Linked DNA regions of Homo sapiens: regions 1, 2, 4, 5 and 6 are each linked to region 3. The links are contacts of gene promoters, found by promoter capture Hi-C in blood cells and fetal thymus (Javierre and others, 2016). All regions are on one chromosome and are shown on one strand. The core of a region is centred on a gene start or on the middle of the fragment in contact, and the rest is flanking DNA. Distances in the headings are between cores, read along the strand shown.

The links. The method cuts DNA at HindIII sites, captures the fragments that hold promoters and counts their contacts. A CHiCAGO score of 5 or more calls a contact.
Region 1: a fragment that was not itself captured here is called in contact with the fragment with the promoter of NT5C1B in region 3 in 3 of 17 cell types (total CD8 T cells, total B cells and total CD4 T cells); the score reaches 6.5 in total CD8 T cells.
Region 2: a contact is called between a fragment that was not itself captured here and the fragment with the promoter of NT5C1B in region 3, in 1 of 17 cell types (total CD8 T cells). The highest score is 5.1, in total CD8 T cells.
Region 4: a fragment that was not itself captured here is called in contact with the fragment with the promoter of NT5C1B in region 3 in 2 of 17 cell types (monocytes and total CD8 T cells); the score reaches 5.3 in monocytes.
Region 5: a contact is called between a fragment that was not itself captured here and the fragment with the promoter of NT5C1B in region 3, in 1 of 17 cell types (M2 macrophages). The highest score is 6.2, in M2 macrophages.
Region 6: a fragment that was not itself captured here is called in contact with the fragment with the promoter of NT5C1B in region 3 in 3 of 17 cell types (M2 macrophages, M1 macrophages and monocytes); the score reaches 5.5 in M2 macrophages.

What each region holds. Positions count from the first base shown.
Region 1 is chr2:19,318,347-19,321,216 of GRCh38, reverse strand. No RefSeq gene overlaps it. Among named protein-coding and RNA genes, the nearest start is that of MIR4757, 29 kb to the left of the region's middle. The HindIII fragment of the contact is 1,990 bases long and covers 544-2,533 here.
Region 2 is chr2:19,336,757-19,339,456 of GRCh38, reverse strand. No RefSeq gene overlaps it. Among named protein-coding and RNA genes, the nearest start is that of MIR4757, 10 kb to the left of the region's middle. The HindIII fragment of the contact is 986 bases long and covers 824-1,809 here.
Region 3 is chr2:18,588,240-18,590,948 of GRCh38, reverse strand. NT5C1B (5'-nucleotidase, cytosolic IB) reads left to right here and starts at 1,380. Exons shown (of 9, transcript NM_033253.4): 1 at 1,380-1,510. The coding sequence starts at 1,481. It overlaps NT5C1B-RDH14 (NT5C1B-RDH14 readthrough), which reads left to right and starts at 1,380. Exons shown (of 11, transcript NM_001199104.2): 1 at 1,380-1,510. The coding sequence starts at 1,481. All of the region lies in intron 2 of LOC105373456 (a long non-coding RNA gene), which reads right to left. The HindIII fragment of the contact is 3,581 bases long and covers 513-2,709 here.
Region 4 is chr2:19,429,051-19,431,750 of GRCh38, reverse strand. LOC105373458 (a long non-coding RNA gene) reads left to right here. Exons shown (of 3, transcript XR_939778.2): 3 at 64-1,758. Among named protein-coding and RNA genes, the nearest start is that of LINC01808, 39 kb to the left of the region's middle. The HindIII fragment of the contact is 1,111 bases long and covers 770-1,880 here.
Region 5 is chr2:19,380,125-19,383,179 of GRCh38, reverse strand. No RefSeq gene overlaps it. Among named protein-coding and RNA genes, the nearest start is that of OSR1, 23 kb to the right of the region's middle. RefSeq lists an enhancer at 1,612-2,811. The HindIII fragment of the contact is 2,032 bases long and covers 663-2,694 here.
Region 6 is chr2:19,402,143-19,405,017 of GRCh38, reverse strand. No RefSeq gene overlaps it. Among named protein-coding and RNA genes, the nearest start is that of OSR1, 45 kb to the right of the region's middle. The HindIII fragment of the contact is 931 bases long and covers 1,071-2,001 here.

The sequences.
Region 1 (2,870 bases), core at 289-2,788, 730 kb before region 3:
TGCTACACATTTTGCCTCTAGGTAAAATATAATATCATTCTAACCAAGAGTTAAAACATCTAAAAGATGGAAAAAGTGAAAACCCTTGATTCATAGGATAGTAAGGTGGTAGTGATGGTTGTGGGGATGTTATGTAAACAATGACAGAGGCCTTCATTGGCCAGTGTTTACAACTATACACAGTCATTATCTAAAAGTATAAGCATAGTTTATTCTTAAATTGTTGGGCGGTCTTTGCATTACATCATACATTAACAAGGTCTAAATAACAAAATATCCTCATATATACTCCATGATTTTTCAAGACTTTATTAATTCCTCCCTCTGCTGGCTCTTACTACTGCTCCTAGAATTATTAATCTACTCCCACCTCCAAATGCTTGTGACCCTCTCTTGTGCTACAATGGCTAGTTCATCCTTCTTGGTTTTTTCTCCTGGTTCCCCTGGAAAAATCAAGTTGGGTTGTTTTGGGTATCCTATTTGCTTAGGATTTTGTTGTTGTTGTTGTTGTTGTTTATATTCTAGGTCAATGCTGCTGAAGCTTTAGTGAGCATCACCTGTAGAGCTTTTTAATATACAGATTCCTAGTATTAATCCCAACTAGTAGGTGAGGTGGGGGGTGTCAGAGAATTTACATTTCTAACAAGATACCAGGTGATGCTCATGTAGCTAGTTTGAGGCCTTAATTTGATTAGTGCTGTTCTAGATGGTACTTCTAAATGGATAGAGTTTATTTACATATTTAGTATAATACATGAAAACTTTTATTGTCTTGTGGTTTCAAAATAAAAAATGTAGTATATAATACAAATCAATTTTAACCAGTGGTTACTTCTCTCTAAATTCTTGGCTTTTTGAGGACCAACGCTTACTCAGATTTTTATCCATGGTGAAGTCAGTTCACGTCATGCTCAGGAAGTATATGTTGATTGAATGAAAAAGGAAGGAAAAGATAACCAGCTGATGGAAGCCTGTAGCACTTGGGGCTCCAGGCTCACCCCTCACACCCTTGTGCCACATTTCATCCAAACCCTGGAAATTGTGATCTCTCTCACTTCCTGCTGCAATTCACTGGCAGCCTTGGGACCACCCTGCCTTAGGCTGAGAAGTGAGAAATTCTGAAAGCAATCGAACACTGTAAATTTTCACAGCAGTTCAACGGAAAGCTGTTGGGCACAGATGTTTCTGTAATTGTGATATGCTGGGAACATTCTCCGGCTCTAAGCACTGAGGGCCTGAGTCTCATTCTTCCACCTGGGTGCCTCAGTGGCCAAATCTTACTATAGTGAAGCTGTAATGGGAACCAGGTGGCAGCATGTGCCTGTCTTAAAAGAGCTGAGTGAGATTCATGTCCCAGTGTCAGTCCCTCCTTCCTTCCTGCCCCAGCACATTCCTTGGGGAGCCAGTTTTCATGATGGCAGACCCCACTACTTACTTGAGCATGGGGTGATTCTTAGCTCCTTGTCCAAGATGGGAATGGAATCTCATGTTTGCTGGTGGGGGGAGCCACAGAGGCCTTCCAGTTGCTCTTTGATAGGCTGTAAGAAAAGAACTCGGGAAAGGCTTGGGTGGTATGAAAGAATATGGGTATTCTAACTGACCTTTGTGTGATCAGGGTTACTACCATCATTTAAAAATCCACCAAAGGATCTTGAAACTTGTGACTTACTCCTTTCAAGCTGAATTTTCTTTTTGGGTATGATATTCCTGCTTTTAGCAAGAGATAGCCCTCATTTGCTTCAGGGCTCTTCCTGCTTTGAAACTGGAGGGAGGCTGTGAATAGCACAGGGGAAACATCTGCCACTGTTTGAAATGCATACCACAAAACTGACAAAAGTTCAAGGAACTTGGAACAGTTTTCACAAATGTTTCCAGTTGGAGGACTTTAACCTGTGCCTACTGTAGCCAAAAGCGTAAAGAGGACAGAGGGTGAAGGATGCAGAACAGTAGAGCTGGCAAGAGGAAACAGTGTAGCAGCAGACATTTCTTGGGAGGATGCGTGCCATGGTCAGTGTTCCAGTCCTGGTGACTCAGACTGAGTGACCATCCTTGCACTGCAACTGTCAGTGTTGCCACATAACAAATGGTCTTCTACTTCTTTTCACAAGATATTTGCTGAACACAAGCTGATGAAAACCTGTTTTTATAAACCGTAGTATAACTTTTATGTCTCAATTTTATCTATGTACAACATCTATATAACTGTGAAACAAAGGAAATTTATACAATATTCACAAATCTACGAGATCCAAGAGGAGTATCTACTTCCAATTGTAGCTTCCATGCAGAACATGTTCTACATTAAAACATACATAGTTAGATCTTTCTTCTTGGTTCCCATTATTCACCATGTAGTTATTTTTAAAAAAGTTACTCAGCCTGTTGAATCTATAATCTCCAAATAGAAAAAATTCCAAAAAAATATTTTTCTTTTATAATTTATAATTTTTCTTTTAAAATATTTTCTTTGGAGTGTTTTTATTATATCAGTTGGCTCAGTGAGGGAACTGATAAAAGAAAACTAAAAGAAGCTTCCATAGGGGAAAAAACCCCAGATAAACTATTAGAAGTAATGAGAAAATTCAGTAAATTTGCCAGATCCCAGATCAACTTAAATATATTTAACATTATTTTCACCAGCTATAATAAACTATCAACTAAAAAACTTAAACAACAAAGACAATAACTTTTTTTGACAATAACTTTCGTAATATCAATAAAAACTATAAAGTATCTAGGAGTTACCTTAATAAGGCATACACAGATTTATATAAAAATGTTAAATTCTACTTGAGTATGTACAAGATGATTTATTTAAATGGATATACATTCCCAGTTTTTGTATGGAATGACTTAATATTATCAAGCTG
Region 2 (2,700 bases), core at 67-2,566, 750 kb before region 3:
AGAGCTGCTAATATAACCTCTGAGGAGCCCAGGGGAAAAAATCCATTCTGCCCTTTTCAGTTTGTTGGTTTTATTATTTTTCACTAAGAATGATTGTCCTAGGCCTACCTGACTGACACCAGGTCCATCGAGGTGCTTGGAACACCGCCGCCCCCCCCCAACCCACCCTCCTGCAGACACATAGCAAAGAGAGATGGGTGCACAGCTGGCTTTGGCTTGGTGCCTCCTTTGGCCCTAGGGGTCCACTTACCCCTGGCATAGGAGGCATGCATCTGCATCTGGATCATGAACAAAACTGTCTCACCTTGATTTCAGAAATACGTGCGAGAGTTTCACCCTTTGAGAACCAACCACCCACCTCTCACTTGAGCTCTCCTTAGCTGCTTTCCAAGGAGCCTAGAGTCCCTCACTTTCTCATGAGAATCCTTCCTTCCTTCCTTAGTAAGAGATGATGTTTATTATAGAATGCAGACCTATGGGGAGGGGATATTCTATATAGCTACCATTTGTTGAATCCTTACCATATCTGAAACATTGTGCCAAGAGATTTGCAATCACAAATATTCCCATTTTTTTAAATGAGGAAACTGAGGCTCAGAAGTACATTTTTGTACAAGATAACAAAGTTAGTAAATCATAGAACCAGCCTTCAAATCCAGATTCTTCAGACTCCAAAATCCATGGGCTCCCAGGACCCTGTACTGCCTCCCTGTAACTGAGATTCATTGAGGGGAGGCCCTGGCCTGACAAATGAGGAGTGCTGGGCTCTGACCTCCTGCTGGTGAGGAAGAAAGCAGCTAAGAGGTCCTGGGCTGAGAAAGCTTTGCCTCACCAGGTGCTCTGAGTGCTGGCACAGGAAGGATGAAAGCGGAAGTCCAAGCACAAAGTGGAAGTCTTCCTCCTGCTTCACAGGGTAGCCTTCCGGGGTGTCTCATTCAGGAGGGAGCCCATCCTGGGAGAAGGAAGAGAGCAGAAATGTGGCCAACCCCTGCCTGCACTAGGGACCTCATGCTTGTCTTTCTTCAGAAGAGGATGATGCTTGTTTGAGAGGGTGGCATAGTGTTTATGATGTTATACTGCATTTCTGTTCCTTTCACTAGCTGGAGTATGAGCTTGTGAACCTGAAAAATGTTGGAGCACCTCAGCTGGGAATGTCAAGGGCTAACAGAGGTGGCAGTGAGGCCTCAGATGGGTTTCAGGTTGCCGTCTTGATGGGACATGGCTTAGACTTTCCATTGCCCTTCAGAGTTTCTTCTTTAGCCAGGTTCCTTATACTAATGATCCGTATGATCAGTATGGCTGAAATATAGCTGAAGAAGGCAGTCAGCATATAGTGTCACCCAGACCAGACTTTTTCAGGATGCAGCCTGAAACTTTTTTACCTTCTCAGTCTGGTCCAGGGACTTCTCCAATGTACTTCTATAAAAGCTGTGACTTAACATTTCTGATGCTATATTACAAATATCTGCTTATAGACTGCAGGCTCCTTGAGGACATGAGCCAATTCTGCTTATCTCAGCATTCCCTGTGCCTTTTGTGGCACCTGAGCTTGAGAAGGTGTTCCTAGCTAAGCCGGACTTTGGAGGAGAACAGCCTTGGTCCAATTACAGAAATGAGGAAACTTCAAGGTAAAGAGGGGTGACTGGTTAATTGTGCTCCTGGGAAAAACATGCTTCTGATCATTAGGTTGAGAATGAGAACTGTGTGTTTAAAACTGGAGTAAAAAGAACAATCTACTGGTAGCCCTGACGGCAGCCAGCATGAAGGGGCTGCCCAGAAGGGACATTTTTGGAAGTGCGAACAAAAGCTTTGCTCTAGGACATCCTAGATTGCTTTTCCAAATAATTATAAGATGCGATGAAGGCTGCACCTTTTATTTCCATTTTATTCTGTTTAGGATGAAACATTTTAAATAAAAGTCCTGAAAATTTAGAAGGCAAATAAAGCAATCCTGCTAGTTTAATGAAGTCAAAGCTGTAAATGCAGCTTTTATGGAGTGTCAACCACTCCCTGAGGAACCTGGTAGCTAGAGGGAAAGGAGGGGGAGGGGCATCCTTTGACTCATCCCAAGGGGCCAGAACCTTTTTTCACTTTTCTGTAGCAAGTAGGGCTTCTAGAGAGGAGAGCTCTGCTAGTAAGGAATGATCCAGGGCCCTCTGGCCTGTGAATTTTTCCTTCAAGTGGCCTTACTTTCTTTCTGCATGATGAGACTGGAGGCATGGCATGGCTCTTTGAAAACCACCATCCCTTTGGGTTGGTGACCTTCTCCCTCTGGTACCTGTGTGCCAAGGGGGTGTATGGAAGACAGGCTTCTGTCCAGTGCCCTCTGTGGTATGTGGCCTATCTACAGCACTAGTCAGAATGCAATGGATAGAGGGCCACTCTGTACCCTGGGGTGTTCTTTCAGTAATCCTCTCATCACAGTCACCTCCAAAGGCTGCTCGCCCTGACAGTGGGGATGTGATGGGCAGGCTGTCAAATAGATTGTGAGTGCATTAGCAGGATTAGCAGTGAAGGCTAATATTGTAGCATTTCCAAAGTTCATTCACGGCAGCTGCTTGGCTGCCAAATTGGGCAGGCGCAGGCTTCAGAATTAATGTCACATCTGGGATGGCCCTGATGTGGTCAGAGGCACAACAGTCCCATTGTGTTTGACTTGTGTTTATGTATTTTTATTCTATAACAGAGTTTAATTTGTAA
Region 3 (2,709 bases), core at 131-2,630:
ATAGTAGAAATAAAACACCTAATTACAATGAGATGAAATTCACATTAGCTGCTCTGGCCCCAAACACAGCATACTAAGAAAATAAAGATGCTCTTGGTACTTAGGGGTGTGATTTTAATAGAAAAGGTAAGGTTCTCTGAAGTTACTCTGAAACGTATAGCACTTACAACTTTGATTGTCTACATAACTTATACAAATATTACACAATAACATCATAACCATGCAAAAACAAATGACCCCTGTACAAATTTTGGGTAGAATGCTGGGGGTTGGGTGTACAGTGGGGAGTAGGGGAGAGATGAAATAACTTAAACCCAGGCACTCTTACCTACAGCCTGAATGTTTTACTAACTAAAAGACTCCTTGGATAACTTAAATTAAAACCATCAACAACTTCCGATATTCAACCTTAGCTATCAACTTGTCCCATGAAAACAGGCTGGAAACCTGCCTCAGTCCTTGATGATTTCACCAGCTCAGGTTGGCATGGCACATGTCTCCTATCTAAAGCTTGGGTGAAGATAAAAGGAGAAAACTAAAATGGAGAACATGTTTAGATTCTGTAAACCAGAGTTAGGGGCTACTTTTTACAAATATCAATTCTATTTGTAACTGTATGTTTCCTGTTACTTGCCAAAATGAATCACAAACTCATTTGTGGACCCAATCATTTATCCATGTTCACTCTCCCAGACTTTGGGGGGCTTTCCTCAGATCTGGAAACTATTTTTGACAGCTGAGATTTTGTTCTAGACATGGAGTTTAGACTTGAGTTTGAGTTTAGCTTTAGTGTTTAAAGGGTTAAGGATGGGGCAGCCCAGGGTTAAGGGTTAAGGATGGGGCAGCAAAGGTAACATTCTACACTGAGTCTAGCCATGGGGAAGGGGCTTTGACAGTGTCTTCCTCAACAGGTTTTGCCATTGAAAGAAACATGAGACATTAAAGCTAAACTCAAACTCAAGTCTAAACTCCATGTCTGGAACAAAATCCCAGCTGTCAAAAATAGTCTCTAGATCTGAGAAAAGCCCTCCAAAGTCTGTCTGGCAGAATGAACATGGATAAATGATTGGATCCACAAATGACTTTGCCATTCATTTTGGCAGTACCAGGAAACAGACAGTCACAAATGGGATTAATATAATGAATGGCAGAGAAATGCTTAAAAAGATTTAAAAAGGAAGTGGTAATATTGATATTGCTACATATTGAACATTTGAACAATGTTTAGACATCAATTTCTGAAAACAAAGACAATGGCTATGAGCAGATACACTCAAAATGAAGAAACATTTATTTTTTGTTTTTTAAGAAAAGGTTAATCACATATTCATAGAGTCAGTTTGTTACTATGGAATCACATATGATGTCATAAATTTGACATTCTAAATGCAAAGCTAGACTGAGCAAGGGAAGTGACAGGAAATGGAGCTGGGGAGACAAAAATGTGGATAACAACAAAAGAATTTCAACAGGTAAAAAAATGAGTCAAACATCTCTCAAACAGAAAAAGGTGAGTGAACCGAGTGTCTTAGAATCTTGCCATGGGGCTGAAGAAATGTGGATATCAGTCCATCATTTGCCTCTGCAAAGGCTCTGCAATGATCAAATAATTTCAGATAATGGCTTCAGGTAGAGGAAAAGAGAAGGGAGAGAATAAAGGCAATGGAAAGAGTACAGAAAAGGGAAGAAGGAGAAATTTAAAAGAAATTAAGACAGCAAAGAAAGAGATTAAAAAACGTGTAGTATATAAATGATTCCAATAAGTCAGTATTCATTTAGCATATACTCATATGTTAGTAGTAAAAGGTAAAAACAGTGGCTGTCTTTGAAGAATGCATGGCCTAGTAGGAAAGACAATAGACAAAGGACAACTCATTGCTCCATAAAAGTATGTACAAAAGACACAAGGAACACAGGGCAATATTTCACTCTGGGAACTTCCCCCAGGTCACACTGAGCTGGGTTTCGAAGAACACAGGAGAGAAGAGGAGACCATAAGGAAATAAGGCTGGTGTATGCAGGCAAATACAAGTCACTTGGTATTAGTAGAACATAGTGATAAAGTATAGAGTGAAGGGCATGCAAGTAGCAGGTACACAGGAAAACATCATGAGGCTCCTGGTCAAACCAAGTGAAGAAAGTGTTTATCCAGGAATGAAGCATTACTAGATTTACATCTTGTAAATATTACTCTAAATAAATACGGTGGACAGATCTAGAAGTGGAGAGGATTTAAGGCCATGAAACCTGTTTGAAAGGCTATATTCTGAAAATGTAGTCCCAGGATGGTCAGAGACCTGGAACAAGGCAATGATAATAGAGATAGAAAAAAGGAACTGGATTCAAAATATCATTTGGAATTAGAAGTAAGAGGTATTATGGTGACTGCTATGTATGTGTATAAGGTGAGTGAGGGTTGATGAAAAGATTTTAAAATTAGTTCAGGAGTCATACAGCTATGCCATTCTCTCATGCAACTAACATTCTCATGCAACTAACATTGATGAGATTTTTCCTGCATGCAAGACACAGAGCATAAACGGATGAATATAGACTGCTCTAGTGGATCTTGGTCTAACTTAGAAGTTGTGCTCCTTAAACATATAAATAACACTAATCTTGATCACATTGCAGCTACTTACTTAGCATGAAACAGTTCAAATAATATTCCAATAAGTATCTCCTCCAAATGAAAATGAAAACATAAAT
Region 4 (2,700 bases), core at 76-2,575, 840 kb before region 3:
GAATTTTCTTCCTTACCTTTTCTGGCTTCTAGAGGTCACCTGTATCTCTTGTATTTTCTGCAGCTCCAGGGCCACATGGGTGCCCAGGCCATAGCTCCCACCAGGCCTCTGTCAAGACCAAGTCCAGACAAAACTTGCTGTTGAGAAGGGGACCCTCACTCTGCACCAGGTTTTATTCTCTTTAGCTCAGGACTCAGCAGATCCAAGCTGTAGATTGGAGATATAAACAGACAAGGTTGAGAAAGGCAAGAGGCAAGGCAACCCAGGTGCCCTATGCGACTGACTTGCCAGGGAGAGCAGATCCCGGGTCTCATTTCTTTCTCCTTCCCCAGCATCCACAAAGCCCTGCATGTTGTTTCAGTAATAAAACCTCAAATTTTTTAGCACTGTTATTTCATTGAACTTACCCAGTTTCTGTGCCACAGGTACTATTATTTTTCCTACTTTCCAGATAAAGAAATTTAGGGAGGGAAAGTGACCTGCTTGAGGTTACTGCAAGCAACTAGTAGTCCGAGGCTCAGGCTGCGTGGTGCTCTTAGATCTCACCATAAGAGATGTCAACAATTTGAATATCCAGTGCCTTTTCAAGAGGGGTGGAGTTATTGCTCATATTAATGGCAAAAGAGGAGAGAATGTGCCTTCTTTTCCAAATAAAAGAAAACCAGACCAAAAAACACCTGCATACAAATGCTCACACGTGGGACCAGGCATCACATTTATCATCACTGAAAGGTGCCTGAACTGCAGAAATCTTTTTGAGCAATAAGCTTGTCCTGGAATGTTGCCCTTCTTCACAATGGTCTTCAAGGCATAAGTATTCCCTGCAAGCCCAGAGTATTTTAATGCATGTTTTATATAAGTAGCCATTAGGCAAATGTTTTAAGTGGCTCCAGTAAGCTACTTTTACCACATATAGCCTGCTTTTTCAAAAAACAAGAACGATTAAGAGCAACAACGTAAATCAGCTATTTAGTCCACAAAATTCCATTTTGTATAATAGAATTATGAGAGTGTATGTTTCAACAATCTATTTATTAAAAGAATTTAGAGAAAAATTGCTGCCTTGAGTATGTTTTTTAGTCCCTCATAGTGTCTAGCACAGGAGCTTGCAACAAAGTAATGAAATGCTCAGTAAATGTTTCACTGGCTAAATGTAGTTAGCAACACCTTCATTAGTGTAAATATCAGTTAGCTTCTAAATGAGATGTCTTTCTTAGACACCTATCATAAGGTTACTCTTCATTGCTCATAAGATGCAGATTTTTAGCATCCTGTTCAAAGTTATTTGAAATCTGGCTCCAGCCCACCTTACCAACTTCCTTCCCTGTATACTGCAACTACATGATGTTGACTTATCCCTTCAAAATGCTTGAACTTTCTTGCCTCCATGCTTTTGTTCATTTTTGCTTTTTCTACCTAACATGTTCTTTTTCCCTTGTCTGTTACAATCCCTTCAAAACCAAATTCAAATTCAATTTCCTCTGCGAAGCCATATCCAGTTGTTACCACTCAGAATAAACTCTACCCTCTCTTTGGCCCGGGTTATAAACTGTGTGTAATTCTAATGTAGCACTTACCACAGTCTCCTGTAGGTTCCAGTTAGGTGTGTATATTTTGCTCCACATTCCACCATTCTCTGCTTCTTGAAGACACAGCCTCTTGCCTTGTGTTCTTTTGAATTTTCCAGTTACCAAGAGACTCACTTATATTAAATGCTCAAGAAATATTTATTTAAGGCAGTGGTTTTGGAACTGGGCTGCACAGTAGAAGAATATGGGGTAGTTTTTTTAAAAAAATACCAACTCTTATACCCCACCTTAAAATAAATAAGTCAAAATCTCTGGGAGATGGGGCCCAAACACTGATGTGTTAATAAAGCTTCTCACGTGGTTCCACTGTGGGCAGAGATGAGCTTTAAGATCTGTTAGCTGGAAGGTAGCCCCCCACTAACTCACAGTTTTTCCCGGCCTTGATCACCCACATCTCTGAAGATAAATCCTTGCACCTGGAAAAGTTTTGACTTCACCATGACTTTGAAGTGAACTTTAACTTCTAAAGAAATCTGTGATGACACAAAAGGCAGGTAAGATATATAGTTGAGAGATCAGCCCCCACATGTGGAAGTGGTTTGTTGCACTCTGGAATGTACCTGTGGAAAAGGTAGTTTTGAAAATGTGAGTAGCAGATGCTCCTGTTCATACACATGCAGTTGACTGATTATGGTGTGCAATCACTTCTCAAATTCAAAATCAGTTGTCTTCCAGAGGTGTTTCCCTTAATCAGGTCTGTGGTGCCAACATGTGGATTGGCAGACCACGCCTTTTATGCAGCTTTATGGAGGCTTGCCCTAGGCTGTCATGCCTTGCTTCCTGTCCTCCTGTCTTTACAGGTGGAATGGGTAATGTTTCTCTATGCCAGTACAGCTAGTTCCTATGAAGCAAGACTACTGGCCCTATGTCAGTGGTTAAAACCTATATTACTGGGCTCTATCCCCAGAGTTTATGATTCAGTAGGTTTGGGATAAAACCTGAGAATTTGCATTCCTAAATTCCCAAGTGATCCTGATGCTGCTGGACTAGTGACCACATTTTGAAAACCACTGCTCTGGAAACAAGAACAAAAAAGAGAATAGAAAAATAATTGATTTGATTCTTAAAGTGGTATAGGTTAAGGTTATAATTGCTTATAAAGGCTATGAGG
Region 5 (3,055 bases), core at 429-2,928, 790 kb before region 3:
ATGCTTTATGAAAAGTTTAGGGGGACAATGCCTCCAAAGAAATCAGAAGTTTATAAATGGATAACTCATTTTAAGAAAGAATGAGAGAATATTAAAGAAGAAGCCCACATTGGCAGACCATCCACACCAATTTGTGAGGAAAAATTTCATCCTTTTTGTGCCTCAATTGAAGAGGACTGATGATTAACAGCAGAAACAATAGCCCGAACCATAAACATCTTTATTGGTTCAGATTATACAATTCCGACTAAATAATAAAAGTTGGACAAACTTTATACTTAATGGGTGCCAAAACCATTGCACCCTGATCAGCTGCAAATAAAGACAGAGCTTTCAATAGAAATTTTAAACAAGTGGGATCAAGATCTTGAAGATTTTCTTCAAAGAACTATAACAGGAGCTGAAATATGACTTTACCAGTATAATTCTGAAGAGAAAGCACAATCAAAGCAATGACTACCAAGAGGCGGTAGTGATCCAGTCAAAGTAAAAGTGGACTGGCCAAGAGCAGAAGTCATGGCAACAGTTTTTTTTTTTTTTTAGATCCTCAAGGGGTTTTGCTTGTAGACTTTCTGGGGGGCCAAAGACAATACATCTACCTACTATGAGAGTGTTGTGAGAAAGTTAGTCAAAGCTTTAGAAGAAAAGCATCCAGGAAAGCTTTACCAGACAGTCCTTCCCCATCCTGACAATGCTCCTGCTCATTCCTCTCACTAAACAAGGGAAGTTTTGTGAGAGTTTCAATAGAAAATCATTAGTCCTGATTTGGCTTCTTATGATTTATTTTTGTTTCCCAATTAAACAAAAATCTTTAAAATGCACAAATTTTTCTTCAGCTAATAATGTAAAAAAGACTGTACTGACTAAATGGCTGGTATCATCACTTATAAAAATGCCTTAAAGTGGATGGAGCTTATGTTGAGAAATAAAATAATAAAATTCATATTTTTATGTTTACCTTTTAATTCAATTTTCCACAAACTTTTTGAAGTACACACACACACACACACACACACATATATATATACACATATATATGTGTACATCTTATTGGTTCTGTTTTTCTGGAGAACCCTCATACAGTACACAAGTACAAAAAGCATGATATACTAGAAGCAGCAGAAACAGACCTATAAAGATGGCATTTCTTCAAATTATTAGACAAGGGAATGAAAGAACTATTCCTACTATTTCGCTGAGAACAACTACAAAGGACAGATAAAATGGGGGAGGGGGGATGCTTGAAGGTATTAGCGTATTATACAGGATTTGAGTGGCCAAGGTCTCAGAGAAAAAGTAGGTGCATCAATATTGTATACATAAATACATCAATACATCACTTTTCCCTTCAGATCAGTTACAATTTTTTTAAGAACAAGATGAGGACAGGTAGAGGTTAGTGCTAAGAATTAGAGAAGCCAGCAGAGTTTCAGTAACCTCACAAAACTAGGAAACAAAAGTTGGAGTTTGAGACTCAGAAGGCAGCCAGGACGTGAGAGATCAAGAGAAGTGGGGTTCAAAGACATGACACAACACCCAGCAACTTTCCTTTCAATGCCTTTGTTAAATTGTGATGTTGCACAGGGCAAGAAGATAAAAAACCAAGCAAACTTCTGCCTCCATTCAGAAGGAATGAATTAACGGCTTTGAGAATATCTTTCCATCATAAACAACTAGAAAAACAGACAAAACATATGTAGATAAATGTAAAGCAGTGCAGCAGGTAAATATATAATATTTCTAGAAGACAACGTAAGAAAATAACTTTATAACCTTGAAGTAAGAAAAGATTTCTTAAAAGGGATGTGAAATGAACCTGCAAAAAAAAGACTACGTTGCAATTAGGAACTGATTATGAAAATATACCATTAATAGGTCAAAAAGACAAGCCACTTAGTGGAAGAAAATAGTTACAAAAAATATATTTGAAAGAGAACGCATATCAAGAATATAAAAATAACCCATACAAAATAAGAAAAAGCCAAATAGAAAAGTGGGCAAAAGAATTGAATAGGAACTTCACAAAAGAAGATATTCTTATGGCCAATTAACGTGTAATAAAGTGCTCAATCTCATTAGTCTTCAAATAGTGCAAATTAAATCTCCAGTGAGATATCATTCATTATACAACATCAAATGGCTAAAATGAAAAACCGTTACCACCAAATTTTGGTGAAGATGTTAAGCAACTGGAACTCACTTACTGTAGTAAAAGATTTGGGACTATTGTGGTGATTTTGTAGCATATCAACCTTGCTGAACTTAAACCACATTTCCCAGAATTTCTTTGTGTAGGTGGTTCTGGGCTAAAGTTGACTCAGTAGACATCTCTTCAGGATTTGGAAGTCAGAGGTGAAGCCATTTTACACTTGAAAGAACTGTGTGCATCAGGTGTTGTTACAGCTCTCAAATACTTTTAATGATCTGCTGACTCATTGTGATGGGGCAGTAGCTGGGCCCACAGCTCCTCCAACTCCTTGTGAATCTTCTTCATCTTCTCTAAATCCTAGGTCAGGTGCATGGACATCTCCATGGAAAAGTGTGCCAAAATACCCTGCAGGTCACCCACATTACCAAGCCTGGAGGCATTAAAAGACAGATGGAGTTCCAGGTTGTCATTGCTTTCTGCCATTGCATGAATATCCACTGCCCCTGCTGACTTTCAATCAATACTAGACACAGAGACAAGAAGCTTATGTAGATGGTGTAAACAGCTCCCAGGGTTGCATGAGGTCTAATTCCTATGATTAATTCCTGATTCTGTATCAGTTATAGTGGCCTGCTTTTCTGATCAAGCTTTATCTGATTGATAGATCTTTTTCATCATTTGAGACTATACGTTTTTTCAGGGAGGATCTAAATAATGGAAATGCTTAAGTGAAAGAAGAGACAAATTAATAACCTTGTCAAGTCCTTCCTCTTACCATGCATATAATATATTCTTGTACAGTGAAATACCATAATATTTATTCCCAGTTAATGCATCATTATTATTCCCAGTAGTACCAAACATCCATTTTCTTTCTTTTATTTATGTTCCAATTTGTGGTTTCAG
Region 6 (2,875 bases), core at 287-2,786, 810 kb before region 3:
GACTGCAATAGAGGCTGGTGGGCCATGCTAAACAAACTCTGAGCAGCTTCGTGTGATGTGCCCTCTCCCTGTTAGGATTTTGTAAGGTATGCATAGTATATTCAACCTGTCATCTTGGTTTACACAATCAGACAACATTTTCACATGTTGATCTCAGTTTCAGAAGGAATGCTAATTGTTTTGTCAACCTAAAATGAATTTTTAAACAGTAAAGTTTGTCGGGTTTTTTTGTTTTATTTTGTTTTGCTTAGAGACACGTTCTTACTCCACGCCAGGCTGGAGTGCAGTAGTGCAATCATAGCTCACTGTAACCTTGAACCCCTGGGCTCAAGCAATCTTTCTGCCTCAGCTTCCTGAGTAACTTGGAGTGCAGGTGCACACCACTATGCCTGGCTAATATTTTTATTTTTTATCTTTTGTAGAGACAAGGCCTTGCTGTGTTACCCAGATTGGTCTGCAGTGAAGTTTTATATATTTTTTGATGATTTATTGCTTGGCAAAATATTCTACTTTTTTGACAATGTTAGTTGTTTGTTCTTTTGGGTTTTTTTTTCCATAATGACAATATTACTCATTCAAGTAAGTAATAGGCTTTATGATGCTTCCTGTGAAATCTTTATTGTTTAGTGAAAATTTATGGACATTTTCTGGTGAATTTATCTTGCAATCAGAAGCTGCTTATGGTGGAAAAGTATCTTTGCTCAGTAATATTCTCAGACCACCAAATATCTGTTTCTAACACAGAAATTCCTGGAATCTGAGCCACTGAAAAATTACTAGCAAGTCTCTGCTTCTTGGTATCTATGTTAACCAAAGTGTGTGTAGAATAGAACAGCAGTTCCTAGTGAACCTGCACCACCCCTGCTGACAACTGCAGGAGGCCTTATTCATCACTGTCCTCCACCGTCTCACTTTCCCAGGGCCGTAAGGGTATAACACCTAGTGCACATTTTCTTATGGTGTCTTGGGCCGTGATTGTCTCTCCGCAGGTATTTAGTCATGGATTCATAGCAGATAATTGACTGTGAGTTTTTACTACAGTCAGCAATTTTCTTTTTCTTACAGAAGCTTTGTCTTCATTCTATTTGGTGTTGCATTCAAATGATGCTTATCATCTTTCAGTGCTCTGCATTTATAGATGGTGGGATTCTTATGTTTCTCTTTTTACTTAAGTGTTATCCCTAGTAACTTTTACACTTTCTATTTCATTCAAAATTAGATATGAATATAACCTTTTGTGTTTTTCTAATTCATTAGAAAATTATTTTGTGTTTTTCTAATATCTTTACCATAAACAATTTAACACAAATGCTTAATTATTTCCTCTATTGAGTCATATTAAAAGGTACTTTGGAATGCTATTAAAGGGATATTTGGCATTTTTGCTGCTTCCACATCAAGAAATAGAGTGTAGCACAAAACAAAAATGAAATAAAATATTGCACATATGAAATACATCCATGGCCTGTGTGGAGATTTGGGGGACTCTGAGATCACTTTAAGTACCCTACTTCCCTGGAGGTTCTATCCTGGGTTCATGTATTCTCAGTGGTGACAAAGTCTAGGGTTGCAGCCTGCACAAGATGTTATCTGAGTTGTTTCTGAAAACATTAATATAAATGCCACTGTCAGACTTGCTAATTGGATGCATGTTGATAATCCAGTGAAGGAAAAGGAACAGATAGCACCATCTCTGAGCTTGGAGTTCCTGTTCCAGTGGAGGAAACCTCTTACTAAGCAAGTGAACTTTGTGGATTAGGGTAGGGGTGGGCTGCAGAAATGGGATTCCACCCAGGAAACATTAAATGAATGGCTTACGGGGATGAGATCAACAGGGAGGGTATCGCTCAGGATGGTGAGTGAGGGAGGCTAGGAGGTGGCTCTGCTGCTGCAGATATACTATCTTCTAACTGAGTCCATTTGGACCAAGCTAATACAAACTTTGCTATATGCTGGCACAGCTCAATGAGAAAAATTGTCAGATGATTCTTTGGGAAAGCTTAGGCAAACCAGAGGATCACGGTGCTGTGCAATGCTCTTAATCCCTCAACAATTATTTGCTTAATTGAGCTTTTCCCCATTACTAAGTTCTAATCATATAAAACATCCTAGGCAAATGCCAATGAAGACAGAAACACATGTCTGAAAAGAGTTTAAAATTGTTATGGCACACAGAATAATGGCATTTTCCATCTAACATATCGTCTGTGTTAATAAGGTTCAAAGACCTTTAATTCTGAAATCACTAAGAGATAGATAATGGACAAGTTTGTTTTACATGTAAGTCAAGAAGGGGTTAGATTATGGCTAATCCCTTCAAAGTCTGTTCTTGAATAAAAAAATTGAACCAGAAAGAATTTAAGTACAGTACAATACTAAGAAGAGAAAGCCATTCTAACTCGTTTCTTTTGGTTGTGTTTGTAAATGTTCATATACATCAACTAAGTCAAACTGGAAGGGAGACCGTGCAGTAGATACCAGCAAAATCCTTTGCCAAATAATCACTAGAAATATGGTAGCTTGCAAACTAAACATGCTCAAAGTAGCAGGAAATGATGAGAACTGAGGTTGTCTGATTAAATCTAACTGTGTGGATTCCAGTAGAATTGCAGATGTAGGAGTAGGTACATTAGCAGATAGACTTGCCAAGCTCAGCTTGAAAAATAGAGAAATAAAAGCTGGGACCACAATATGAAAAGAGTCTCTCTTTGATGACATGCTACCCAAGGAGAATAGTTATTGGGAGGTGGATAGAGGATAGAATAGATTAGAATTAGAATATGGTGGAGGCATGAAGGATTAGATGATTCTTTGCATAGTTAAAGGAATGCATAACAAATACTTTGTTGAGCTATCAGGTAGAGCAATGTTAATG